Linked DNA regions of Homo sapiens: all the other regions are linked to region 1. Evidence: promoter capture Hi-C in 16 types of primary human blood cells and fetal thymus (Javierre and others, 2016). All regions are on one chromosome and are shown on one strand. Each heading gives the region's core, a stretch centred on a gene start or on the middle of the fragment in contact. The rest is flanking DNA. Distances are from core to core; before and after follow the strand shown. Region 1 holds the start of ALOX15B (arachidonate 15-lipoxygenase type B). Region 2 holds the start of ATP1B2 (ATPase Na+/K+ transporting subunit beta 2). Region 3 holds the start of EFNB3 (ephrin B3). Region 4 overlaps DNAH2 (dynein axonemal heavy chain 2). Region 5 overlaps ARHGEF15 (Rho guanine nucleotide exchange factor 15). Region 6 overlaps DNAH2 (dynein axonemal heavy chain 2).

Region 1 (4,161 bases), core at 800-3,299:
CCAGGGCTGGAGTGCAGTGGCACGATCTTGGCTCACTGCAACCTCCGCCTCCCGGGTTCAAGTGATTCTCCTGCCTCAGCCTCCTGAGTAGCTGGAATTGCAACCTCTGCCTCCCGGGTTCAAATGATTCTCCTGCCTCAGCCTCCTGAGTAGCCGGAATTACAGGCAGTCACCACCACACCCAGCTAATTTTTGTATTTTTAGTAGAGATGGGGTTTCACCATGTTGGTCAGGCTGGTCTCGAACTCCTGACCTCGTGATCTGCCTGCCTCAGCCTCCCAAAGTTCTGAGATTACAGGTGTGAGACACCATGCCTGACCATGATCTCATTCTTTTTCATGGCTGTATAGTATTCCATGGTATATATGGAATATACATGATAAGTCACTCTCACTTCAGTTGGCTTTCATGAAACACTGTGACAGGCACAAGAGGACAAAGTGTCTGCCGGCATCGTTCTCCTCCTACCTCATTGACTGAACTTTGCTGCTTCCACTCCTTTGCATGACTTCCAAATATCAGAGGACCTTAGGGCACAGCTTGTGCCTCTTCTCTTCTCTACTTATAGGATATTCTCTGCCTAGTGATCTCCACCAGCCTGTGGTATAGATGTACCTGTGTGCTTGTGACTCAAAGATGCACACCTGCAGTCCTGAGCTCTATGCCCAGACGTGGGTTCTCCACTTGGATGTCTAATGGCCATCTCAAACTTAGCATCTCCAGACCGAAAACCCCAAATCTGTTATGTTATTCCCCCAAAGCCCAAATCCATAACTTCCCCTTGGCATCTCTCCCCCAAATCCCTCCCTCACTGCACTCTTGCCTTTCCCTCCTCCAACAAGCCAAGCTTTTCCTAACCACAGGGCCTCTTCAGGAACAGTTTCCTCTGCACAAAACTCTGTTCCCCAGACAGATCCTTTCACCTCCTCTGAGGCTCTGAACGCCTCCCTTCCCACCTCTGCTTCTCACTCCTTCACATTAGTCTGTTTCATTTCCTTCATTGCACTTATTATCATCTGAAATTATGTGTTGGTTTACTTATTTTCTCTCACACTTGATTTTTTTTTTTTAGACCGAGATTTGCTCTGTCGCCCATGCTGGAGTGCAATGGCACAACTTCACCTCACTGAAACCTCCGCCTTCCGGGTTCAAGCTATTCTCCTGCCTCAGCCTCCTGAGTAGCTGGGACTACAGGCGCCCGCCACCACGCTTGGCTAATTTTTTTGTATTTTTAGTAGAGATGGGGTTTCACCATGTTGGCCAGCAACTGTGCCTGGCCTCACACTTGATTTTTAATCTCCATGAGAGCAAGCACTAGGTCTTGCCTGGGCCTTTATCAATAGCAGTGAGCATAGCACCTGGCACAGAGGTAGTTCTGAACATTAATTATTGAATGAAATAAAATAATGAATGTAGGCTGGGCGCGGTGGCTCACGCCTGTAATCCCAGCACTTTGGGAGGCCGAGGCAGGCGGATCATGAGGTCAAGAGATCAAGATCATCCTGGCCTACATGGTGGAACCCCGTCTCTACTAAAATACAAAAATTAGCTGGGCATGGTGGCACTCGCCTGTTGTCTCAGCTACTGGGGAGGCTGAGGTAGGAGAATCACTTGAACCCAGGAGGAGGAGGTTCCAGTGAGCCGAGATCATGCTGCTGCACTCCAGCCTGGCGACAGAGCAAGCCTCTGTCTCAAAAATAAATAAATAAATAAATTTTAAAAATAATGAACGCAGGCCCAAGAAGAGTTGTGGGAAATGGGGTGATATTTTTGCATAGACTTCTAAGGCTAAGAAGGAAAACAAACAGACGTGGTGGGCACAAATCTACCCCCACCCCAACTGGGTCCCAACTCTAGGCTCTCTGGCCTGGCACCACCACTGAAAGGCCCCGTTCCCCAAACCTCAGGGTATTCTTAGTCCCTCCTGTTCCCAGCGCTGCCAATCCCCCGCCCACCCCCACTTTAGTTGCGTGTTCCAGCCTCTCCGCCCCGCCCCTCCCCGCCCTGAAACGGACGTGCTTTTTAGAGGAGTCCACTGGGCTTGGAGTCAGTGGCAATAACCAGGGGCAATAACCAGGCGTGTCCCAGGGGGGAGCCCCGCTCTGCAGCCCTGTGCGCCGTAGAGAGCTGGACTTAGGCTGGCAGCATGGCCGAGTTCAGGGTCAGGGTGTCCACCGGAGAAGCCTTCGGGGCTGGCACATGGGACAAAGTGTCTGTCAGCATCGTGGGGACCCGGGGAGAGAGCCCCCCACTGCCCCTGGACAATCTCGGCAAGGAGTTCACTGCGGGCGCTGTGAGTGCGTGGGAGTGGATGGGGTGGAGGTGAAGGGGGCGAGCAGGAGGGTCCGGCCTGACGCATACTTAACCTCCCCTCAGGAGGAGGACTTCCAGGTGACGCTCCCGGAGGACGTAGGCCGAGTGCTGCTGCTGCGCGTGCACAAGGCGCCCCCAGTGCTGCCCCTGCTGGGGCCCCTGGCCCCGGATGCCTGGTTCTGCCGCTGGTTCCAGCTGACACCGCCGCGGGGCGGCCACCTCCTCTTCCCCTGCTACCAGTGGCTGGAGGGGGCGGGGACCCTGGTGCTGCAGGAGGGTACAGGTGAGGGGCGGGCCGGGCTGGGGCTGCAGGGGGAGCACAGGAAGGGGTAGGGGACTGGGGGTTGGGGAGAAGGGCAGGTGAAATGGAGAGGTGAGCTGGTGTGGCCACAGAGTAGCGGGCAGAGGAGAGGGAATGGCGGAGCCTTGGGGAGCGGGAGGTAGCAGCCTGGTGTAGGAGAAACTGTACTTATGGGAGGAGGGGACCTGGTAGAGGGTGGCAATCGTGGAGACTGTGTGGCTGGTGGTAGTGATGGTGAGTTTCTCTCCCCACCCCAACCTACTCCCCTTCTCCCACAGCCAAGGTGTCCTGGGCAGACCACCACCCTGTGCTCCAGCAACAGCGCCAGGAGGAGCTTCAGGCCCGGCAGGAGATGTACCAGTGAGGAGGGGGTTACTGATGGGGGAGGGTGTGCCCAAACGATGAGGGGCAGCTTGAGTGTCCTGGTCATGACAGAGATTAAAAGCCCCTGCCTCCACCTCTCCTATCAAAGCTGCTCCTGGGATCAGCAGCGTCTACAGGAACGTATTAGAAATGCAAATTCTCAGGCCACCTCCAACCTACTACGACACTGAGGGTGTAGAGTGGGAATTTTTGTTTTGACAAGCCTTCCAGATGACTCTGGTGGCCACTGATGTTTGAAAAACACTGCTCTAGGGCCAGGTGCCGTGGTGGCTCACACCTGTAATCTCAGCACTTTGGGAGGCTGAGGGAGGCGGATCACTGGAGGTCGGGAGTTCGAGACCAGCCTGGCCAACAGGGCGAAACCCCATCTCTACTAAAAATACAAAAATCAGCTGGGTAGGGTGGCGGGCACCTGTATTCTCAGCTACATGGGAGGCTGAGGCAGAAGAATAGCTTGAACCCGGGTGGTGGAGGTTGCAGTGAGCCGATCACGCCATTGCACTCCAGCATGGGGGACAGAGCAAAACTCCATCTCAAAAAAAGAAAAAAAAAAAGGAAGGAAGGAAAAGGAAGGAAAGAGAGAAAGAAAGAGAGAGAAAGAAAGAAAGAAAGAAAGAAAGAAAGAAAGAAAGAAAGAAAGAAAGAAAAGAAAGAGAAAGAAACTGCTTTAAATGCCTTACCTTTGCTGGTGTCTTCCTTGCCCTGGGACTTTTTCATGCATCGGCTTGTTGTGTCCTCCCAGAAATCTGAGTAGAGCCAGAAACACGCCCTTCAAGCCCCAGGAAACTCACCCTCCAGGGCTAGCAAGGGGTGAGATGGGGGCTCTCTCTGTGCTCTGGGCTCAGCATTGGAGATCACAGGGGAAAACTGGGACTTGGAGATAACAGAGGAGTTGGGGCCGCTAGTGAGGATTCCCTTGGCACAAAGCCAGGAACTGCATTCAGAAACAGATTTTCAAAAGATCTTGATCCGGCCAACTCATCTGCTATCTAAAGCCTGGGCTGCAGGCTTTTGCTCCTGGTCTGTGGGATCAGAGCAGCCACAGGCTCATTTGGTTCCTGGTGATTCTCCATGTGTCATGAATTCCACCCCTAAGGAAACCATTGCACCAAATCTGGCAGCAACAGCCCCAAGAGAGGGAATAGACATTGAGATCTACTGTG
Region 2 (4,161 bases), core at 1,079-3,578, 390 kb before region 1:
AGTTTATATTTTAGTGCCTCTAAGGGCATTTTTTCCCCTAGGTTTTGAACAAGGGTCCCTGCATTTCCATTTTGCACTGGATCCTGACAATTATGCAGCTGGCCATGCTTCAGTCTATTCTGCAGCAGATTCGGGATTAATTTTCTCAAAATACAGCTTTAATTAGGCCACTCCTCAGCTGAAAGTTCTTCAGTGGCTTCTTATTAGCCTGTAGGATAGAGTCCTGATTCTTCAGTCTAACCTGCAGGGTACTCCGCAATCCACACCCATGCTGTGTCCCCAACCTCCTTTCCCACTAGTCTCCGACTAGTTCTCTCCTGGAGCCAAGCCAGCCACTCCTGGGGTAGACTGTGCTTACTCCTGACTTCACACCTCTGTGCCTTTCATTCCTTTGTCCTGGAAGACTACCTACCCTTCAGAGGCCAGCCCCAACTCCCATTCATTCATTCATTCATTCAATGCATACCATTTTTTTGAGATGGAGTTTTGCTCTTGTCCAGGCTGGAGTGCAGTGACACAATCTCGGCTCACTGCAACCTCCACCTTCCAGGTTCAAGCAATTCTCTTGCCTCAGCCTCCTGAGTAGCTGGGATTACAGGCTCCCACCACCGCACCCGGCTAATTTTTTTAGTTTTAGTAGAGACGCAGTTTCACCATGTTGGCCAGGCTGGTCTTGAACTCCTGACCTCTGGTCTCGAACTCCCTTGCTCAGGTGATCCATTGGCCTCGGCCTCCTATAGAGCTGGGATTACAGGCATGAGCCACTGGGCCTGGCCGAGATAATGATTTTTTTTTTCTCTCTTTTTTTGAGACGAAGTCTCACTCTATTGCCCAAGCTGGAGTGCAATGGCGTGATCTCAGCTCACTGCAAGCTCCGCCTCCCGGGTTCAAGCAATTCTCCTGCTTCAGCCTCCTGAGTAGCTGGGACTACAGGCACCCACCACCATGCCCAGCTAATTTTTTTTTTTTTTTTTATTGAGACGGAAGCTCTGTTGCCCAGGCTGGAGTGCAGTGGAGCGATCTCGGCTCACTGCAAGCTCCGCCTCCCGGGTTCATGCCATTCTCCTGCCTCAGCCTCCCAAGTAGCTGGGACTACAAGCTCCCGCCACGACGCCCAGCTAATTTTTTTTTTTTGTATTTTTAGTAGGGACGGGGTTTCACTGTGTTATCCAGGATGGTCTCGATCTCCTGACCTCGTGATCCACCCACCTCGGCCTCCCAAAGTGCTGGGATTACTGGCGTGAGCCACCGCGCCTGGCCTAATTTTGCATTTTTAAGTAGAGACGGGGTTTCACCATGTGGGCAAGGCTAGTCTCGAACTCCTGACTTCGTGATCTGCCCGCCTCGGCCTCCCAAAATGCTGGGATTACAGGCATAAGCCACCGTGCCCGGCTTGAGATAATGATTCTTAACATGTGGTATGTAGAGCAAGTGTACTCCCGCCCTAGACTGTGAGCCCCGTGAGAGATGTGGCTTCAGTGTAACCTCTCTGGCCTCCCCAGGGCTACAGCACACAGTCTATAGAGGTGCTCAATAAATGTTTGTTGACCCAAGTAGACACATAAGGAGGTGAGTTCCGACGTGGGGGTGGGGGTGCCAGGAGGCAGAGAACCGAAGTAGACCTGGCTGCAGGGCTGGGATCTCAGGGCAGTGCTGGGGACTGGGAATGTGGTGTTGAGAGGGCTTCAGGGAGACGTGATGGGAAGATGGGGAAGCCTCTGCACGTGGACAGAGCCAGGTGGTGTGGACAGGGGCTGTGAGATTGGAGAAGGAGGCGTCTGGGGGACTGGTAGCGGCTCCCAACAGGGGAACGTCCCTCTGGGGGTGGCCTTTATCCATCTCTGCGGGGCCTGTCCTAGCTTCCCTCCTGGCTCGGCCAGCCTCCCGGCTGGTCTCTTCGCTCTCTTTCTTGATCTCTAGCTCTTTATTCCTCTGACATTCTGCCCCATCTGCTCCCGGACTCTTCCGCCGCATCTGTATCTTAGTCTCTTTCTAACTCCCTGCCTGGGGCCCCCACCTTTGAGCATATATCGGCTTCTCTCTCTGCCGTTGTGTTTCTCTGGGGTTATCTTTCCCTCTACTCCGCCCGGACACGCCCTCTATCTCTTCCTCCCACCCTGTCCCAGTCTAGTACCTGGGGTGGGGGTAATGGAGAGACAGCTAGGTCCCTAAGAGAAGTCAGGGGGGCGGGCCCAACCTCTCCATATTTACATATGTATGAGGTCGCCTGGGCCAGTGGCGAGGAGGCGGAGCTTCTGGGGGTGGGAAGGGGGCGGGCACCCCCAGAGCCGCAGAGTATAAAGACCGCGCTCGGCGACCGCGGGCCTCGCACTGCTGAGGAGCGGAGCCTCCGCCTGGGGGGCCCCCCATCCCTGGCTGTCCCCCAGCTGCGCGTCCCCGCCCCACCCCCGCGGCTGAGCCACCACCGGTGCAGTGGTCTCCGCTTGGCGGAGCGAGCCTTGAGCTTCGTTCCACAGCTTCTTTGCATCTTGGATTTCGGGGCGGCCCCCTCCCCCACCTCTCTCTGCCTTTTTGTACCCCGCTTTTTTTCTGCGTTCTGCTCGGTTTTTGTAGCCGTCTGTTTTTGCACCCCATTTCGTTTTGTTTCTAGACGGTTTGGTGGGGGGTGAAGCTGCATTCATACCCCTTCCTCTTGTTATTCTCCCCTGCTCTGACAGCACCCCTTTTCATCGCAGTTGGGGGGCCTAGGATCGGTGCATCTTCCGCCGCGCTGCCAGCACCCCGCAGCGCGTGGTCGTGCACCCCGGAATCTGCAGCAGCTGCATATCTGAGGGGGGTCTCCTTTGCCCGCGCCGCCTTCGCTCCCCGTGCTTTTGGGTGTGTGGAGGGCTTCAGCGCGCGGCGCCCCCGCTTCTCCGCAACCCCCCGCCCCGCGCCCGGACTCGCCCCGCGCCACCAAGATGGTCATCCAGAAAGAGAAGAAGAGCTGCGGGCAGGTGGTTGAGGAGTGGAAGGAGTTCGTGTGGAACCCGAGGACGCACCAGTTTATGGGCCGCACCGGGACCAGCTGGGGTACGCAGGGCCGGCACGCAAGGGGCGGGGGAAAGCCGCGGGGCGACGCCTCGGGGGCGCAGGGTCCCGCCGACGCGGCCCCAGCTCCCCTCCCGGGTCCCCGGCGTCCAGCCTCCCTGCCGGGCTCTGGGCTGGGAGGGGGCCGAATCGCCAGTCTAATCTCCCCGGCTGGCCGTGCGGAGGCGGAGAAAGTAGGTCACAGCCGCCTTCCCGCCCCCCGCGGAGCCCCCTCGGGCGGGGGGTCGCCAGCTCCGCCTGCGTGTCCGCGCCGGCGCTCACACTCCCTCTCGGGGCCTGTCCGCTCCACACGGGCGTCCCCCACCTCCAAAGAGCGCCCCTTCCCTCCCTCCGGCTCTCACTAGCTCCGCAGCCCCGTCTATTTTTAGCTCGTGCCCACCCCCTGGACCCTGGGAACGTTCATGAGGGGGCGGGTCTTGGGGGGTGTGTTAGGGGGGTTCTTCACGGCGGAAGTTGTCTGTATCCCACCGCCTGGCCTTGGGAGCCTTCTGGGACTGCTTTGTGGGTTGGGGGGCTGCTGATAGTATGAGTTTTACCGAGGCTGCAGGTTTTGCTCCCATGTCGGTGACGGAGGGAGGAGTGGTCGCTGTGGTGATTTGTGTGCATCAGCCAGCCAGGTGTCTGTGACAGTCGGATGACTTGGAAGCCTCCCCAGGCTGACCATGGCAGGACTCAGGGAGCTGTAGTGGTCGGGGGTTGGGGGGGTGGAGGGGGTCTGGTGACCGGCACAGGTGCAGGTGAGGGGTGGAATTCTTCCAAGAGGGATGGTCAAGCTGGGACGTTGAGACACAGGGGACAGAGGACACTGTGTGACACGATTTACAATCTTTCCACACTGGGCACCGTCCCCATCAGTCCACCCATTCGGGGCCTACACGAAGTGGGTCCCATGCAATCCATTCCCTCAGGGAACTCAAACTCCAGCCCCTGGGATGAGAAGAATCCAGCAATGCTTGGGAGAGCCAGAGGACTTCATGGAAGAAGTGTCCTCTGAGATGGAAGGATTGGGAGTCCAGGGTGGTGGGAACAGCCGGCCCTTGGGTCCTTACTTCAGGCGGGGGAGCCATGGAGAGATCCCACCAAGGGAAGGCTGTGGGAGATTCTGCCTTT
Region 3 (4,161 bases), core at 185-2,684, 330 kb before region 1:
CTCCCAAGGTGGGGGCGGCAGGGGTCAGGGTGAGCGGGGCTGAGCAGGAGCTGGGTCAGACTGTTGGGTGTGACCGTGTGAGACTGTGCAGACAGTGACAGGGCGCCTGTCGCCCACACTCCACACTGTTTGCCATTCTCCAGCAGCATGGGGACCATTACTCAGCTCTGAGGGGAGCAGGAGCACTCTCCTCCGCTCCCCGGGGCTCCCCAGGAGGCAGACAACCCAGTTGCCAGAGTCAAGGACACACATAAAAGAGTAAAGGTGTTGAAAAATACAGTCGTCACCTTTGATATTGCTGTTCCATGCGGGGCGCGGCGAGGGTCTTATTCATTCAGCGGCTGTCGCTGGGCTTGTTTCTCCATTTGTCTGCTCTGTCTTTGGGGGTGGGGGACGAGTGTGTCATTTGAAGCAGTGACTCCTCCCTCCTCCCCCCAACACCTTCCCAAACACTGAGAATGGGGGGACTTTGAAGAAATACTGCCAGCAGGGGATGTGATTTTGGACCTCACAATCAAAGGGAAGGGACGAAAGGCCTGGGGAGGCTTGAGAGGGAGAGGAATGTCACCCCTGCCCAGAGGTGCTGAAAGCCAGGGCTCTTACACCCGAAAAGGCAACTCCTCCCTTCCCCCAGGATAATTGGAAACAGCCCTTCCTGCGCAGCGCCGGTTTGGGGTTGTAGGTACGCCCCTTCTTCTCCCAGCCCCGCTTCTCCCCCCAGCCATCTAGGAAAGACCCAAGTGTATCCCCTAAACTCTTGTTTTTCACTAACCCCCAGGTAACAACAGCACTTGGTCCATGGAGCAGTGACAAAAGAGACCCCAAGAGTGGGAGGTGCGCAGCCTGGGTTTGGTTTCTAGCTTTATCCCAGACTTCCTGTGTGACCTTGGGCAAGTCACGGGGCCTCCCTGAGCCTCAGTTTCCTCATCTCTGCAATGGGATCGTTAGCTCTGCCCCTCCCACTTCACACAGGTAGTCGTGACGATCAGCTCCGCCGCACTTTGTAAAGCGCCAAGCCTTCAAGGTTATTATTATTCTCTCCAAACCTGCCGGGAGCAGCGGTGTTGTTTTGGGATGGAGGAGGAGGCTGCGGGAGCGAAAGGGGTGGGTTCCTCGGGGTGGAGAGGGCGAGAGCCTTTCTGGATTCGAGAGAGGAAGATTCCAGCAGCTTGGGCGATCGGAGGGCAGGAGGGGAGCCGGGCAGAACTCAGCCGGAGCCAGAGGCTCGGAGAGACAAAGGGGGCGTGACAGCCCGCGCCGGGGGCTGAGGCGGGGCGGCGGGCGGGAGGTGCGCGAGGTGAGGGAGGTGTGGGGGGCGTGGGCCGCGGGATGCTGCCGCCCGCTCCGCCTCGAGCTCCAGCTCCGGTTTTTCCCTCCACCATCCTCTGCCCCTCCCCGCCTCTCCTTTAACTCCCCCCTCCTGGGCTCGGGACTGGTTTCCTCCCTTAGCCCGCTGCCCTCAATCCCAGCGAGGCTGGGGCTCCGGCTCGGCGCCCCCTTCCTCGCTCCCTGGTCCGGCGCCCCATGCCGCCCCCGCCCGGTCCCCGGCTCCCCCAGTCCCCCACTTAGGCGGGCTCACAGATCCCGGGGTGCTGGCGCGTGGGCCGGGGGCGCGTAGGGCGCCTGCAGACGGCCCCTGGAAGGGCTCTGGTGGGGCTGAGCGCTCTGCCGCGGGGGCGCGGGCACAGCAGGAAGCAGGTCCGCGTGGGCGCTGGGGGCATCAGCTACCGGGGTGGTCCGGGCTGAAGAGCCAGGCAGCCAAGGCAGCCACCCCGGGGGGTGGGCGACTTTGGGGGAGTTGGTGCCCCGCCCCCCAGGCCTTGGCGGGGTCATGGGGCCCCCCCATTCTGGGCCGGGGGGCGTGCGAGTCGGGGCCCTGCTGCTGCTGGGGGTTTTGGGGCTGGTGTCTGGGCTCAGCCTGGAGCCTGTCTACTGGAACTCGGCGAATAAGAGGTGAGTGGCCTGCGGCTGGGGAGATCCCAGACCCTAGGGCAGTGGGTAGGGAAGCTCTGGGGGCTTGGAGGCGGGCTTCTGTGGGCAGGGAGGAGGCGGGAGGGAAGGTGCTGGTGCTCTGATGTGTGATGGGTTACTAGACAGGTGATCTTGGGAGCCAGACTCCGGGTCCCACGCAGAGCTGGATGCGGGTGGTGCTATGGATGTCAGGAGTTTGGAGACCCCAAAGGGGCAAGGAGAAGAAAGTTCATGGGTAGCCGGGAGGGCAGTGAGGTGGGTATTTGGATCTGTGGGAGGCCTGCGTCGGGGGCTGGGCTTGGAGGGAGCCTGGTTACTGTCAGCTCTCAGGAGAGAGCTGCAGATTAGGTGCTGCGAGTCGCTGAGGGGAAGGCAGGGCAGGGTGCCTCCCTCCCCCAGAGGGACTGCGCATCCGAGATGGGAGGCAAGGGGGTTCCGTTTGGGGGCTCTGGGGACAACTTCCCCAAGGCTCCTTGACTCTCTTCACAGTCTGTCTCCCAACTCTTCCCCACAGCCAGAGGGTCAGTGAACTGTTGGCTGAACGATTTCCCAGCCAGAACATATTCCTGCCTTCCTGGCTTGCCGGCATCTTGCTGGAAGAAGCCTGGAGCCCCCTGAACCCTCCTTCCTTCCCTTTTGCATCTGGAGGACTCCATTGCCCCCTCCCCCAATCTTTGCTGCAAACTCTTCCATCAGACCCTCTGTTCCATGGCATGCCAGCTTTGCTCTGAAAAGAGGCCAGGGGTCAGATGAAACTTCAAGCCACGCTGGGTAGGACAGAACCTTCGGGAGGTCACCTGGGTCCCTTGCCTACATGCGGATCCCACTTCCCGCTCATAAAAGAGTTCTGTGTTTTGAAAAATTCCTACTTCCCTGGGGAGACTGTGTGAGGCCATGGGAAGGGGGTGGGCTTTGGAGCTCATCAAATCTTTGGTCTTAATCCTAGCTCTGCCGCTTTCAGCTGTGTGGCCTTGGGCATGTCACTTAACCTTTCTGAGTTTGTATCCTCAATCCTTACAGCTATTATGAGGATTAGCGGTAAGGTGTTTGAATGTATTATGTGCTCATTAAAGGAGAGCTAGGATTATTGTTCCTCTCTTTACTTCCCAGCCTCCCTCACACTTCTCTGCTCTGCCATCCCTCCCTCTCTTTTCCCTGGATCTCTTTGGGTATAATCTCAATGTCTTTTCTGTACTCAGTCACCCACCTGCCAACTCCCAGCTGCAATGTGAGTATCAGGTGTGTAGCTTGAGAACATAAGCTTGTTTTCACAGGGTAGAGAAAAGGGAGTTAGGGTGTCCTGGGGGCTCTTTCGGATGTGGGGTGGGAGTGGGACACTTGGGAGTCTGGGAAGATATCAAGTAGCAGTCCCCTGGGACCCAGTCCTGAGACCCTGTCTCAGCAGCTATTGATGTCCAGGAAGGGGCTGCAGGGGTTGGCAAGTTGTGGCTGTGCTGGGACAGTGGATGCCTGGGTGCACTGGCCAAGGAGATGGTGAAGTGTGTTGGTTGTGGTTAGAAAAGTCAACTCCTTTCCTTTCCAAAGCAATAGAGCACTTGCCCCAGAAGTCTAAGACCCAGTGTGGGATTCTGAGTGGGAGAATGACTCAGGCAGCAGGTTCCTAGACCCTGGTTCCCATCAGCCCCAATGATGGTCGTGGCCAAACCAGGCATTTGCCTTCTGTGCTATTAGCTGGCTAACTTAGGACACTGGTCTGGACCACCCTCCACACAGCCCCTCCCTGAACCGCCGCCCCCTTTGCCCGGAAATCCCTGAAATTCAGTGGTGGCCTGAAGGAGGGGAGGCTCTGCCCGCATGGTTGGCTGCCATGGAATAGTGAAATCACCTGGGAGGGGTGGGCTGTGTGGTTCCAGAGAGGCCAGCTCCTTGGTAACTGGCATCCTGTTGCCATGGCAACGGGGCTGGTGATGGAGCGGGAGATGGCGGTGTGCATGTGGTGAGGGCGGGCTGAAGAGTGGAGTGCATTTGGGCACACCAAGGGGCAGGAGACCCCTGAGCCTGGCTTCCTGCTGCTTCCAATGTGAATGCACAGAGTCCTTGGTGCCTGCTCTATAAGAAGAGACTTTCCACTCAGACAAAGGCGGGCAAGCGTGAGCTGAGAATTGCTGTCCTGGAAGGTTGTGGGGTGAGGGAAGGAAAGTTCTGGGGGCCAGGCCTCTGACATCTCTT
Region 4 (4,161 bases), core at 469-2,968, 290 kb before region 1:
TCTCTACTAAAAATACAAAATTAGCCGGGCATGGTGGCAAGCGTCTGTAATCCCAGCTACTCAGGAGGCCGAGGCAAGAGAATTGCTTGAACCTGGGAGGCAGAGGTTGTGGTGAGCCGAGATTGCGCCATTGCACTCCAGCCTGGGCAACAAGAGCTAAACTCCCCCCCAAAAAAAAAAAAAAAAAAAAAAAAAAAAAAAAAAAAAAAAGAAAGAAAAAAGAAAATCTTGCCAAGATGAGAGAATGAAGAATTTGTTTTGGTGCAATGTTGGCCAGCATACATGCCCAAGTAGGCTTGCTCAGATGTTTATCAACAGTGACAAATCCAAGACATCCAGTTTGAAGGACATGATAATACGTTTATGCTACTAGAAATGTTTCTGTATCTATTCACACACTTCCAATCTCCCCATATCATTATAACACAACTTTTTGTTACATTGATGTTTAGGGCTTATCTTATTATGACTCTATTAGGATTGTTCACTGCTGAGTTGAGTAATTTTACATTGTTATAGTTCTTTTGCTTGTACAATGTTTTGCTCAATTTGGAATTTAAAATTGCCTCATTATTAGGCCAGGTGTGGTGGCTCATGCCTCTAATCCCAGCACTTCAGGAGGCTGAGGTGGGTGGATCACGAGGTCAGGAGTTCGAGACCAGCCTGGCCAACATGGTGAAACCCCGTCTATACTAAAAATACAAAAAATAGCTGGGCATGGTGGCGGGTGGCTGTAATCCTAGCTACTCAGGAGGCTGAGGCAGGAGAATCTCGCTTGAACCCGGGAGGCAGAGGTTGCAGTGAGCTGAGATCACGCCATTGCACTGCAGCCTGGGCGACAGAGCGAGACTCTGTCTCAAAAAAAGAAAAATTACCTCATTATTATCGTTATTACTATTATTATTATTTGAGATGGAATTTCGCTCTGTTGCCCAGGATCTCTGCTCTGCTTCCCAGGTTCAAGCGATTCTCCTACCTCAGGTGATCCACACACCTCAGCCTCCCAAAGTGCTGGGATTACAGGTGTGAGCCATTGTGCCTGGCCACCTCATTATTTTTGCTAGCGCAGCATTCACTATCACTAAGTCCTCCAAACCAACCAATAAAATCCCTTTGAGTAGTATTTTTCCTCACAATCTGACATACTGGGTATTGGTTTCAATGTTTTTCTTAGATCTGTTTTTTTCCTGTCCTCCTGCTTCTGTCCAGCTGGTGTTGTTTTCAAGGCCTGTTACAAAGCAGTTACCCCGGGACTTCCCTCAGCCTCTTTCCTTGTTTGATTTCATGTTTCCTTTGTCTTCCTCTTTTTTGGTTTACGCCTTTGTTTTGTTGGTGTGTATCCATTAGTAGCTTCCTAAGAAATGGTGCAGGGGAGGTAAATCTTTTGAGTTTTTGCATGATTGACAACTGTTTTCCTGCCCTCTGCTTGTTGTACATTTGGCTGGGTTTGGAATTCTAGCCGATTTATAGTAATTGTCTTTGGCTTTGGCCTCTCTCTTTTACTTTGGAGGCTTTCCTTAAATGCCTGGTGATTCATTGCTCATTTATACTTTCAAGAGGCTTACTCACTTTGAAGATATTTTAGCAGTTTTAAAAATACCACATACGTTAGTGGAGATCTTCAGGGTTTGAAAAAACAGCATTTCTTCTTCCACAATCTCTTAAAGCCTGTATCACAAATAAGTGAGCACTTGAAAATCATTTCATTCTTGGAGGATTCTTCTCCAATAAAGACGGTAAAAACACAATCCTTTGCAAAGTTTGAAATGTGTTATTATCTCCAATATTGTTAATTCAGTGTAGAAAAGACTAAAAAAATTCTAGAATTTTCACCTCAATATTCTTTCCAAATAACATTTCAGCAGTATTTAGAATGCAAAGTTTCTTGAGCATATCTTCAGGTCGTGGGAATGTTTATCCTTTGTGATTAAAAAGTGCAATTTTATTTTAAAAGCCCTGCAGATTAAAAAAAATCAAGTTATTTATTTATTTATTTATTTATTTATTTATTCATTTTTTTTTTGAGGGGGAGTCTTGCCCTGTTGTCCAGTCTGGAGTACAGTGGCACCATCTTGGCTGACTGCAACCTCTGCGTCCTGGGTTCAAGCGATTTCTGGCTAATTTTTGGATTTTTAGTAGGGATGGGGTTTCACCATGTTGGCCAGGCTGGTCTCAAACTCCTGACCTGAAATGATCCACCCACCTTGGCCTTCTAAAATGCTGAACTTACAGGCATGAGCCACCACACCAGGCCAAGATTTTTTTTTAATTTTATTTTAAAAAATATTCCATATTTTCTTCTGGTATTTTATGATTTTATTCTCTACATTTAGATGTTTGATCCATTTGAAATTTATTTTGGTGTAGAGAAAGAGGTGCAGATTCAAATTGAGTTTTGTATTTCATTGTTTGTTTGTTTTTTCCTGATGGCTAGAGCCATCTCATTTAGAGTTGACCCAATCTCATTTAGTGAACTACTATCTTTATAGTAACACATTCCCGAGTATATTCGTGTCTATTTTGGGATTCTCTATTCTGGTATCTGTCTATTCATGTGCAGGAACCAAACTGTTTTAATTATTGTCCTCATTACTCTTCTTTCTTCAGAGTTTTCCAGGCTATATTTAATATTTATTTCCCATAAGAATTTTAGAATCAATTTGTTTAGTTCCAAAAATAGTCTCATTCCTATTTTTATAGGAATAGAGATTTGGTTAAATTTATAGGTTAACTTTAGAAGAATATCTTTATGATTTTGAGTCTTTCCAAGAATAGTTGTGGGGTGTGTGTGTGTGTGTGTGTGTGTGTGCGTGTTTTGAGACTGAGTCTTGTTCTGTCATGCAGGCTGGAGTGCAGTGACACGATCTCAGCTCACTGCAGCTAGGACCTCCCAGGCTTATTGATCCTCTTCCGCCTCAGCCCCCCAAGTAGCTGAAACTACAGGTGTGAACCACCGGGCCTGGCCAACAGTGTTTTTTCTTTCAATTTATTTAAGTCCTGCCTTTTCCCCTTAAGTCATTTTACACACACACACACACACACACACACACACACACAATTTCTGATTAATTTTTGGTATTTTATTTTTGTTGTTTTAATTGTTATTGTCTCTTTTTCTTGATGATAATATCTACCTAGTCACAATTTTTGTATTGAGAACTTTGATTTTTATAAATTAATTTTGTACCTAGCAACTTTTACAAATATGTTTAAAATCATTTTTTCCTTTAAAAACATTTTTATTATGAAACTTGTCATAGACAGAGATATACGTAAAACTTGTATGTTCAGGCCGCGCGCGGTGGCTCACGCCTGTAATCCCAGCACTTTGGGAGGCCGAGGCGGGCGGATCACGAGGTCAGGAGATCGAGACCATCCTGGCTAACATGGTGAAACCCTGTCTCTACTAAAAATACAAAAAATTAGCGGGGCGTGGTGGCGGGCGCCTGTAGTCCCAGCTACTCAGGAGGCTGAGGCAGGAGAATGGCGTGAACCTGGGAGGCAGAGCTTGCAGTGAGCTGAGATTGCGCCACTGCACTCCAGCCTGGGTGACAGAGCAAGACTCCGTCTCAAAAAAGAAAAAAAATTGTATGTTCAGTTTAACTAACAAATCATTATAAAATAACAAAATAAAACACCCTTGCAAACTACTGCCCAAGTCAAGGATTGCCAGGAGTCCTAGAGCCTCTCCCACATGCCCACTGAATAATTATTTTTCAGGTGAATTGTTGTTAGCACTTAAAATTCAGGAGATTTTACATGAAAAACCAATTTCTGGCCTCTCTTGAAAAATCAGAAAATGCATCCACACTGGGCCCACATTTCCAGATGGCAACAATTGCCTGGAGCGTGGAGCATGGCTTTCTTCGCGGGAGCATGTCCTCTTCAGCTCAACTTTAAGGCCAAGCGTCAGTTGCCATTTATCATCACACTTGAGCCACACTTGCCTTGGAGGTAGGTGTCTGAATTTCTGAACTTTGCTTTAGCATATTAAAAACAGAAGGAGGTTGGATGTCGGAAAGTAAGGCCGAGGAAGGATGCATGGTTCTGGTGTAGGCGGTGGGATAGTACCCTTCCCTGAGGCAGGAGCGCCAAGTTTGCAGAGAAGATGATGTGCTTGTTTCTAGACACATTGAGTTTGAGGTGCTTGTGCACGAGCAA
Region 5 (4,161 bases), core at 1,121-3,620, 280 kb after region 1:
AGTGAATGAGGGGATCTTTATGTGAAGAGTTCCCAACTAGATTATCAGTGTCTTTATGATCTTATTCAGCTTTATCTATCCCCATTGTAGACAACAAAATAATAATAATGATACTAATCAAAATAGCTCAACAGCTATTAAGCTTTCTAGGAATGGTTCTAAGTGCTATACACCTGTGTAACCTTACCTGCAACTATGTGAGGGTAGGAACTATTACTTGTCCTACTTTAGACATGAGAAAGCTAAGGCACAGGTCACATAACTTGCCTCAGGTCATACAGAAATAATTGATGGAGACAAAATTGTAATCTAAGCACTCTTAGCTACTCTGCTATATTGCCTGCACTAACAGTTTTGGTTAATAATTATTAAAATAATAGGAACCTTCGGGGCAGGCACGGTGGCTCATGCCTGTAATCCCAGCACTTTGGGAGGCCGAGGCGGGTGGATCATCTGAGGTCAGGAGTTCAAGACCAGCCTGGCCAACATGGTGAAACCCCGCTTCTACTAAAAATACAAAAAAATTAGTCGGGCGTGGTGGCACACGTCTGTAATCCCAGCTACTTGGGAGGCTGAGGCAGGAGAATCACTTGAACCCGGGAGGCAGAGGTTGCAGTGAGCCGAGATCGCACCCCTGCACTCCAGCCTGGGTGACAGAGCCAGACTCCGGAAGAAAAAAAAATAAGAACCTTCTTTTCAACATTTAATATGTGCCAAGAACTATGCTAAGCACTTTACATATATTGCCTTCTTGAATCCTCAAAACAATGCTATTGATATGCTAGGTGGGTATTAGCCCCATTTTACAGATAGGGAAGCTGAGGCTCAGAGAGGTAACAGGACTTGCTCAGGGTTCTGCAGATGGTGAGTGATGAGGTCTGTCAGCCTTGTTGAAACTGGCTGAAACAGACAGGGTCCTCTGAGCTGTGGCCCCTCTGAATCCCAGGGCCACAGAGCAGGGGGCCCAGTCACCCTTCCTCCTTGTCCCCAGAATATCCTGCGCCAGACAGAAGAGGGGTCCAGCCGTCAGGAGAATGCCCAGAAGGCCCTGGGTGCTGTCAGCAAGGTGGGCAGTGGGGAAGCTGAAGCAGGGGGAGGTGACAAGGTGGTAGAGAGAAATGGTAGGGAGCAGGGGGCTGGCCGCTGGGGTGGTGACACAGCTCCCCTTACCTAGATCATCGAGCGTTGCAGCGCTGAGGTGGGGCGCATGAAGCAGACTGAAGAGCTGATCCGGCTCACCCAAAGGCTGCGCTTCCACAAAGTCAAGGTACATCGCTGCCCAGGCTCCCCATCTTGCCCTGCCCCATGTTGCTGCTGCCACGCTAGAACCTCCTCTGCCTCCGCTTCCTCGCAGGCCCTGCCCCTGGTCTCCTGGTCACGGCGCCTGGAATTCCAGGGAGAGCTGACTGAGTTAGGGTGCCGGAGGGGGGGCGTGCTCTTTGCCTCGCGCCCCCGCTTCACCCCTCTTTGCCTGCTGCTCTTTAGCGACCTGCTGCTCATCACTCAGCCTAAGAGGTGAGTCCTAGGGAAGGAAGGAGCCCAGGCTGGAGTGGGCAGGAGGGGTCCAGCGGGACCCCTGCTGTCCTTCTGAACGACCTCATCCCTGGGCAGTGGGCAGCGGTTACAGGTTCTGGACTATGCCCATCGCTCCCTGGTCCAGGCCCAGCAGGTTCCGGATCCATCTGGACCCCCTACCTTCCGCCTCTCCCTTCTCAGCAACCACCAGGGCCGCCCCACCCACCGACTACTCCAAGCTTCTTCCCTGTGAGTTGTGTTTCCCTCAGAAAACAACCTTGGGACACTTATCTGACCTCTCAGACCTCCCCCACTTCCCCAGTCTCTCTCTTCTGTGGCTCCTGCCTCAGCCCCAGAGGATCTTTTGGGCCAACTGTGACACTTCCCAATATCCCCACCAGATCAGACATGCAGCGCTGGCTGGGAGCCTTCCCAACCCCAGGCCCCCTTCCCTGCTCCCCAGACACCATCTATGAGGACTGTGGTGAGTATCCCCCTAGAGGGGATGAGGGAAGAAAAAGCGAGTCTTAGAGGAATATGGGGGAGAAGCTAAACAGAATCACTTTAATGTCACCCACCCCCAACCAGACTGTTCCCAGGAACTGTGTTCAGAGTCGTCTGCACCTGCCAAGACTGAAGGACGGAGTCTGGAGTCCAGGGCTGCCCCCAAACACCTGCACAAGACCCCTGAAGGTGAGAAAGTCTTTCATTTATTTATTTTGTATTTATTATTATTATTTTTTGAGACAGAGTCTCATTCTGTCAGCCAGGCTAGAGTGCAGTGGTGTGAGCTCGGCTCACTGCAACCTCTGCCTCCTGGGTTCAAGGGATTCTCCTGCCTCAACCTCCCAAGTAGCTGAGATTACAGGTGCCCACCACCACGTCTGGCTAATTTTTGTATTTTTAGTAGAGATGGGGTTTCACCATGTTGGCCAGGCTGGTCTCGAACTAACCTCAGGTGATCCGTCCCCTTTCACCTCCCAAAGTGCTGGGATTACAGGCATGAGCCTCTGGTGCCAGGCCTTATTTCTATTCTTTTTTTTTTTTAATGGAGGTGGGGGGTCTCACTATGTTGCTCAGGCTGGTCTTGAACTCCCGAGCTCAAGTGATCCTCCTGCCTCAGGCTCCCAAAGTGCTGGGATTACAGGCGTGAGCCACTGCGCCTGGCCGTGTTTCATTTATTCATTCAATAAATATTTATTAAGCACCTACAAAGTGCCACTCGCTGTTCTAGGGACTGTGAATCAAATATATCACACTTCCTTCCTTGCTGGAGCTACGTTCTAGCAGAGGAGGCAGACGATAAAGAATGAGCAAAATAGATAAGTAAATTATAAAGTACATGTGAAGGTTATGAGTGTTATGGAAAAAAAAAAAAGTGAGCAGAGCAAAGAAGGTCAGGAGTTCCAGGGTTGGGCAGACTGAAATTTTCAATAGGGAGGCCGAGGTGGACCTCACTGAGAAGGCAACATGAAGCTTGATGGAGCTAATTTAGGCCCATGGTGTCTGGGGGAAGAGTGTCCCAGCTGGAGGCAGCAGGCAGTGCAAAGGCCCTGCGGCTGGTGTGTGACTGAGGAACTGTAAGGAGGCCAGTGTGACTAGCAGGAGAGAGAAAGGGGGAGAAGCAAATGAGGTCATAGAAGTGGCAGGGATGGGATCACGCAGGACCTGACAGGTCTCTGCAAGGACTCCACCTCTTACTCCAAGAGACATGAGCAGCCACTGCAGGGCTTGACGGAAGAGCAGCCCAGACTCTCTCCGAGCTGCTGTCACCTCCACTTCTGATGCCCTTTCTACCGATGCTCCAGGCTTGTCCATGAATTCCCACACCTACAATGACCCTGAAGGCCTGAGACCCCACGAGGCCCCCTTTGCCTCCTCACCTGCTCCCTGCCCCCACCTCATTGGAGCCTCTGTCTCTCTTCCCCCAGGTTGGCTGAAGGGGCTTCCTGGGGCCTTCCCTGCCCAGCTGGTGTGTGAAGTCACAGGGGAACACGAAAGGAGGAGGCACCTTCGCCAGAACCAGAGGCTTCTCGAGGCTGTTGGATCTTCTTCAGGCACCCCCAATGCCCCCCCACCCTAATGCAGGCTGAGGAGGGGGCACATGTTGGGAGACACCTACCAGTGTGGCACGGAGAGAACAAAGCCCATTCATCCATTGGATTCACTGTCAGTGGAGATACTACCTCTCGTGGCAACCATAGAGATCGAGCTTCAGGACAGAGCAGCCAATGAAAACGGCCGCCTGAACCCACAGCAATAAGAATGAATGAGGATGCCTTGAATGTGTGGCCAATGGAGACAGAGGCTTAGTGCAGAGCAGCCAATGGGTACTGAGCTGGCTGAGCCTATGGCCAATGAGTATTCCTGCTATGCTCAGGGCCAAGGAAGACAAATCTAGGTCATGGCAGTTGAAAAAGGGCCTCATTGGAGATAAAGTCGTAGGATAAAATTGGGAACAGGAATGAGCAGGAAGCCAATCAGCCAAAGAAAATGGTGATCTGGACCCAAGAGACCAGTAGTCACCCTGCTTGTTTCTGCAGCAATGACTGGTCCTGTCTTTTGAGTCTGGGAAATACTAGTTTCCATTCCTGGATGCTTCCTGTGCCCTCTCAAGCCAGTTCTTCTCTTCCAGAAGAATTCAGA
Region 6 (4,161 bases), core at 515-3,014, 270 kb before region 1:
ATTTGAATATCGCATGAGTTTACCACATTTTGTTTACCATTCACCAGTTGATGGACATTTGGGTTGTTTCCACCTTTTAGCTAAAGGGAGTAGTGCTGCCATGAACACGCGTGTACTTGTATTTGTCTGAACACCTGTTCCCTATTCTTGTGAGTGTAAGCCTAGGGGTGGAATTGCTAGATCATATGGAAACTCTATGTTTAACTTTTTGAGGAGCTGCCAAGCCATTTTCCACAGCAGCTGCACCGTTTCACATTCCCACTAGCAGTGTACAAGTCTCCCTATTTCTCCATATCTCCGTGCCAACACTTATTTACCTTTTTTTTTTTTTTTTTGGTTCTAGCCATCCTAGCGGGTGTGAAGTGGCATCCCACTGAGGTTTTGATTTGCATTTCCCTAATGACTCATGACATTGAGGATTTTTTCATGTGCTTGTTCCTTGATAAGCTCTTAAGGCAACAGAGTGGAGAAAAATATGTGGACTGAGGAGGCCGCTGTATTATCTAGAGGGGAAGCTTCACAGAGCGAGAGCAGCGAAGGGCCTGGGCGTCCGTCAGGGAGGAAGAGGGCAGGTGCCACTTCATGCAACGCGCCTTTCTGCCCTGTAGGAGCTCGATGCCCTCCAGCAAATCTGGGAGATCGCACGAGACTGGGAGGAGAACTGGAATGAGTGGAAGACTGGCCGGTTCCTGATCCTGCAGACGGAAACCATGGAGACCACGGCCCACGGGCTGTTTCGTCGCCTCACAAAATTAGCCAAAGAGTATAAGGTGGGGAGAAACGGCGGGGAGGCGGAAGAGAAGCTGGTGGAGGATCTGGGTCTGTTCCCAGGGAGGTCGTCGGGTCTTCTCATGCCCCCAACTTTTGCTCAGGACCGAAACTGGGAAATTATTGAAACCACTCGCTCAAAAATAGAGCAGTTCAAGAGGACCATGCCTCTCATCTCAGACCTGCGGAACCCTGCCCTTAGAGAGAGGTGAGGCTTCTCCTCTGCTCCGGGGTGTCCACTCTGCCCCGCTGGCCTGCGCCACCACTTGGTCCCTCCCATTCTCCTCTCCGCAGTGTTCACAGCCCTCTCTTCCCCTCTGTCCACAAATGTATGTCTTTTTCTCTTTCCTCTTTTTAACATTTAATTTTGATGGACGCATGAAAATTGCATACACTTTGGTGTACAGCATAATGTTTTGAAATATGTACACATTGTAGAATGGCTAAATTGAGCTAATTATCATATGCATTACCTCACATACCTATTTTTTGTAGTGAGAGTACTGAAAAGCTACTCTCAGTGATTTTCAAGTATACAATAGATTGTTATTAACCATTGTTGCCGTGATGTACAGGAGATCATCCCTCTTGTCTAACTGAAATTTTGTGTCCTTTGACCAACACCTCCCGAACTTTCCACCTACCACCCCCAGCCCCTGGTAACCAGCACTCGACTCTGCTTCTGTGAGTTCAACCTGTTCAGACTTTACATATGACATATGAGTGCGATCATGCGGTGTTTGTCTTTCTTCGCCTGGCTTATTTCGCTTAGCATAATGTCCTCCAGGTTCTTCCATGTTGTTGCAAATGACAGGATTTTCTTCTTTCCTGAGGCTGAAGAGTATTTCTTTGTATATATACACCACATTTTCATCCTCCATTCATCGCTTGATGGACACTTAGGGTGATTCCACATCTTAGCTATTGCAAATAGTGCTCAGCGAACATGTGGCGCAGACACCAAGCCTGCCACTGTCCTCTGCTTCTTGCACTGTCTCGGGTCATCCAGCCTTGCTGGCTTCTTGTTCTCTGACCCCTGCCCTGGGGCCTCCCTCTCTCTGAAAGGGAGTTGTCTATCATGACTAAGTCTTATGTCTTTTTTTTTCCTTTTTTTGTGGGGGAGACAAAGTCTCACTCTGTTGCCCTGGCTGGGGTGCAGTGCTGTGATCTCGGCTCACTGTAACCTTCACCTCGCGGGTTCAAGCAATTCTTGTGCCTCAGCCTCCCAAGTAGCTGGGATTACAGGCACCTGCCACCATGCTCTGCTAATTTTTGTATTTTTAGTAGAGATGGGGTTTTGCCATGTTGCCCAAGATGGTCTTGAACTCCTGGCCTCAAGTGATCCGCTCGCCTTGGCCTCCCAAAGTGCTGGGATTACAGGCATGAGCCACCGTGCCCGTCCCGCCTTATGTCTTTTGTTATACAAAAGATTTTATTTTGAGGTAGCCAGAAGTATAACTTTCTTTCTGTATGGTTTTTGCCTTTGTGCCTTGTTTAGGAAGACCTTTCCTATCCCAAAGTTACAAATACATCCTCTTCATTCTTTCCTCTAATGCTTTGTGTTTCTCAGGTTTAACTCTTTTAATTCATCTGGAATTTATTATATGGCAGAGGATGTATCTCAAACCATTGGGGATAGATTTATAAAAATAAAGTAATTTTTATAAATGGTGTTTCAATCATGATCTATCCATTTAAGAGAAAATAATTTTACTTCTTTGTCTTTCTTCCAGTATAACGTTTTTGGCAATGCCAAACCATTAAGTGTTATACGGTTATGTATAACCTAACCACTTTATTTGCTTACATTATTTAACCTCTCTAAGCCTCAGTTTTCTCATCTGTAAATGGAATAATAATAATTCCTAATTTATAGAGTAGCCGTGAGAATGATATGAGATGTTTCATGTAAGGCCTTTACTCAGTACAGTTCTAGAGTAAACCTGCGGTGATTCATTGTGTGTTTTGTGGGCACACCTGCCTTAACTTCCTCTCCAGAGAATCCACTCCTGGAGGGTTTCACCTCAATCTTCGTATTCCCCTGGTGCCTAAGATTGCATCTTCGAGCCTGTTTAGCAAAATGAGTTGAATCATGAATTGGTAACTATGCAGAATCATAGTGTCCCAGTGGGAGACAGCAATGGAGTGATGGTAACTCTCCTGACCTCACACCCTCCTGTTCCTGGCTGCAGGCACTGGGACCAGGTCCGGGATGAGATCCAGCGGGAGTTTGATCAGGAATCTGAAAGCTTCACCTTGGAGCAGATTGTGGAGCTTGGGATGGATCAGCATGTGGAGAAAATTGGGGAGATCTCTGCTTCAGCAACTAAAGAGCTGGCTATAGAAGTGGTACGACAGTCCCCTCCCATGCTCCCACACCTCCTGCGCCTCCTGGAGCACAGGCTCCAGCTGTTCATCATCTGATGGCGCCTCTCAGCTCCTGTTCCCCTTAGTGAAGAGATACCTGACTGCTGTGTCCCCCAATTTCTCTCCACAGGCTTTACAAAACATTGCCAAGACCTGGGATGTGACTCAGCTCGACATAGTACCCTACAAGGATAAGGGCCATCATCGGCTCAGGTCAGGGGAGCTGGGGCTCTAGGAGAATGGAGGGCTGTGTGACCCAGGCTGCAGAGTGGGACCAAGGTTGGGCAGGTGGGGATGAACTATGATTTTGACCCCTTGTGTCTCAGAGGTACAGAAGAAGTATTCCAGGCACTGGAAGATAACCAGGTAGCTCTGTCTACCATGAAGGCATCACGCTTTGTCAAGGCCTTTGAGAAGGATGTGGACCACTGGGAACGCTGCCTCTCCCTCATTTTGGAGGTTATTGAGATGATTCTCACAGTGCAGCGTCAGTGGATGTACTTAGAGGTCAGGACTCAGCGCCTGAGCTCTTCCTGCTTCCTGCTCTTACTCCTTCTTTTTCTTAAGACCTAGATTTTGCCCTGTTATCAGCCTCATTCTCCTACCTTTAAAGTCACTCTTCATCTAGGACCCAGCTGTCTGATTCTTAGTTATTACCTCTCACCTTAGATTCCCTCCGTAACAAGTTTTTGTTCTTCTCAGATTTTTCTTCCATTTTTCTTCTTAGACCCAGGTAGCTGGCCCCCTACCTCCAGCTTTCCTTGTAGAACTTGGGCATCTTGGCCTTTGACTTCTAGCACTCTGTATCTTCTACCCAACTGTCACCCACAATCTGGGAACAGGGAGCAGAGGGTGGAGAGTGTGTAAGAAGTGGCCTCTCACCCCAACTTTTGGCCCCCTCAGAATATCTTCCTAGGAGAAGACATCCGCAAGCAGCTGCCCAATGAATCGACCTTATTTGACCAGGTCAACAGCAACTGGAAAGCCATCATGGACAGGATGAACAAGGACAACAATGCTCTCCGG

Evidence for each region. Contacts are between HindIII fragments. The CHiCAGO score rates a contact against its expected background, and 5 or more counts as called.
Region 2: a contact is called between the fragment with the promoter of ATP1B2 here and the fragment with the promoter of ALOX15B in region 1, in 1 of 17 cell types (activated CD4 T cells). The highest score is 5.6, in activated CD4 T cells.
Region 3: a contact is called between the fragment with the promoter of EFNB3 here and the fragment with the promoter of ALOX15B in region 1, in 2 of 17 cell types (naive CD4 T cells and activated CD4 T cells). The highest score is 7.0, in naive CD4 T cells.
Region 4: a fragment that was not itself captured here is called in contact with the fragment with the promoter of ALOX15B in region 1 in 9 of 17 cell types (total CD8 T cells, naive CD4 T cells, naive CD8 T cells and 6 more); the score reaches 8.5 in total CD8 T cells.
Region 5: a fragment that was not itself captured here is called in contact with the fragment with the promoter of ALOX15B in region 1 in 1 of 17 cell types (activated CD4 T cells); the score reaches 5.1 in activated CD4 T cells.
Region 6: a contact is called between a fragment that was not itself captured here and the fragment with the promoter of ALOX15B in region 1, in 2 of 17 cell types (megakaryocytes and endothelial precursors). The highest score is 6.2, in megakaryocytes.

What each region holds. Positions count from the first base shown.
Region 1 is chr17:8,037,010-8,041,170 of GRCh38, forward strand. ALOX15B (arachidonate 15-lipoxygenase type B) reads left to right here and starts at 2,050. Exons shown (of 14, transcript NM_001141.3): 1 at 2,050-2,293; 2 at 2,377-2,596; 3 at 2,893-2,974. The coding sequence starts at 2,147. The HindIII fragment of the contact is 10,323 bases long and covers 846-4,161 here.
Region 2 is chr17:7,648,598-7,652,758 of GRCh38, forward strand. ATP1B2 (ATPase Na+/K+ transporting subunit beta 2) reads left to right here and starts at 2,329. Exons shown (of 7, transcript NM_001678.5): 1 at 2,329-3,033. The coding sequence starts at 2,922. RefSeq lists enhancers at 981-1,481, 1,482-1,982, 2,257-2,899 and a silencer at 2,239-2,388. The HindIII fragment of the contact is 15,564 bases long and covers 1-4,161 here.
Region 3 is chr17:7,703,768-7,707,928 of GRCh38, forward strand. EFNB3 (ephrin B3) reads left to right here and starts at 1,435. Exons shown (of 5, transcript NM_001406.4): 1 at 1,435-1,953. The coding sequence starts at 1,832. RefSeq lists enhancers at 1-27, 28-919, 49-128, 1,813-2,704 and a silencer at 1-118. The HindIII fragment of the contact is 8,602 bases long and covers 1-3,230 here.
Region 4 is chr17:7,749,139-7,753,299 of GRCh38, forward strand. The region is part of intron 12 of DNAH2 (dynein axonemal heavy chain 2); the gene reads left to right. Among named protein-coding and RNA genes, the nearest start is that of DNAH2, 33 kb to the left of the region's middle. The HindIII fragment of the contact is 7,689 bases long and covers 1-4,161 here.
Region 5 is chr17:8,317,396-8,321,556 of GRCh38, forward strand. ARHGEF15 (Rho guanine nucleotide exchange factor 15) reads left to right here. Exons shown (of 16, transcript NM_173728.4): 10 at 992-1,066; 11 at 1,175-1,267; 12 at 1,355-1,515; 13 at 1,612-1,764; 14 at 1,917-1,999; 15 at 2,104-2,208; 16 at 3,447-4,161. The coding sequence ends at 3,598. Among named protein-coding and RNA genes, the nearest start is that of ARHGEF15, 9.2 kb to the left of the region's middle. The HindIII fragment of the contact is 1,237 bases long and covers 1,753-2,989 here.
Region 6 is chr17:7,767,292-7,771,452 of GRCh38, forward strand. It overlaps DNAH2 (dynein axonemal heavy chain 2), which reads left to right. Exons shown (of 86, transcript NM_020877.5): 23 at 609-770; 24 at 873-976; 25 at 2,961-3,117; 26 at 3,266-3,348; 27 at 3,462-3,642; 28 at 4,039-4,161. Among named protein-coding and RNA genes, the nearest start is that of DNAH2, 52 kb to the left of the region's middle. The HindIII fragment of the contact is 2,502 bases long and covers 514-3,015 here.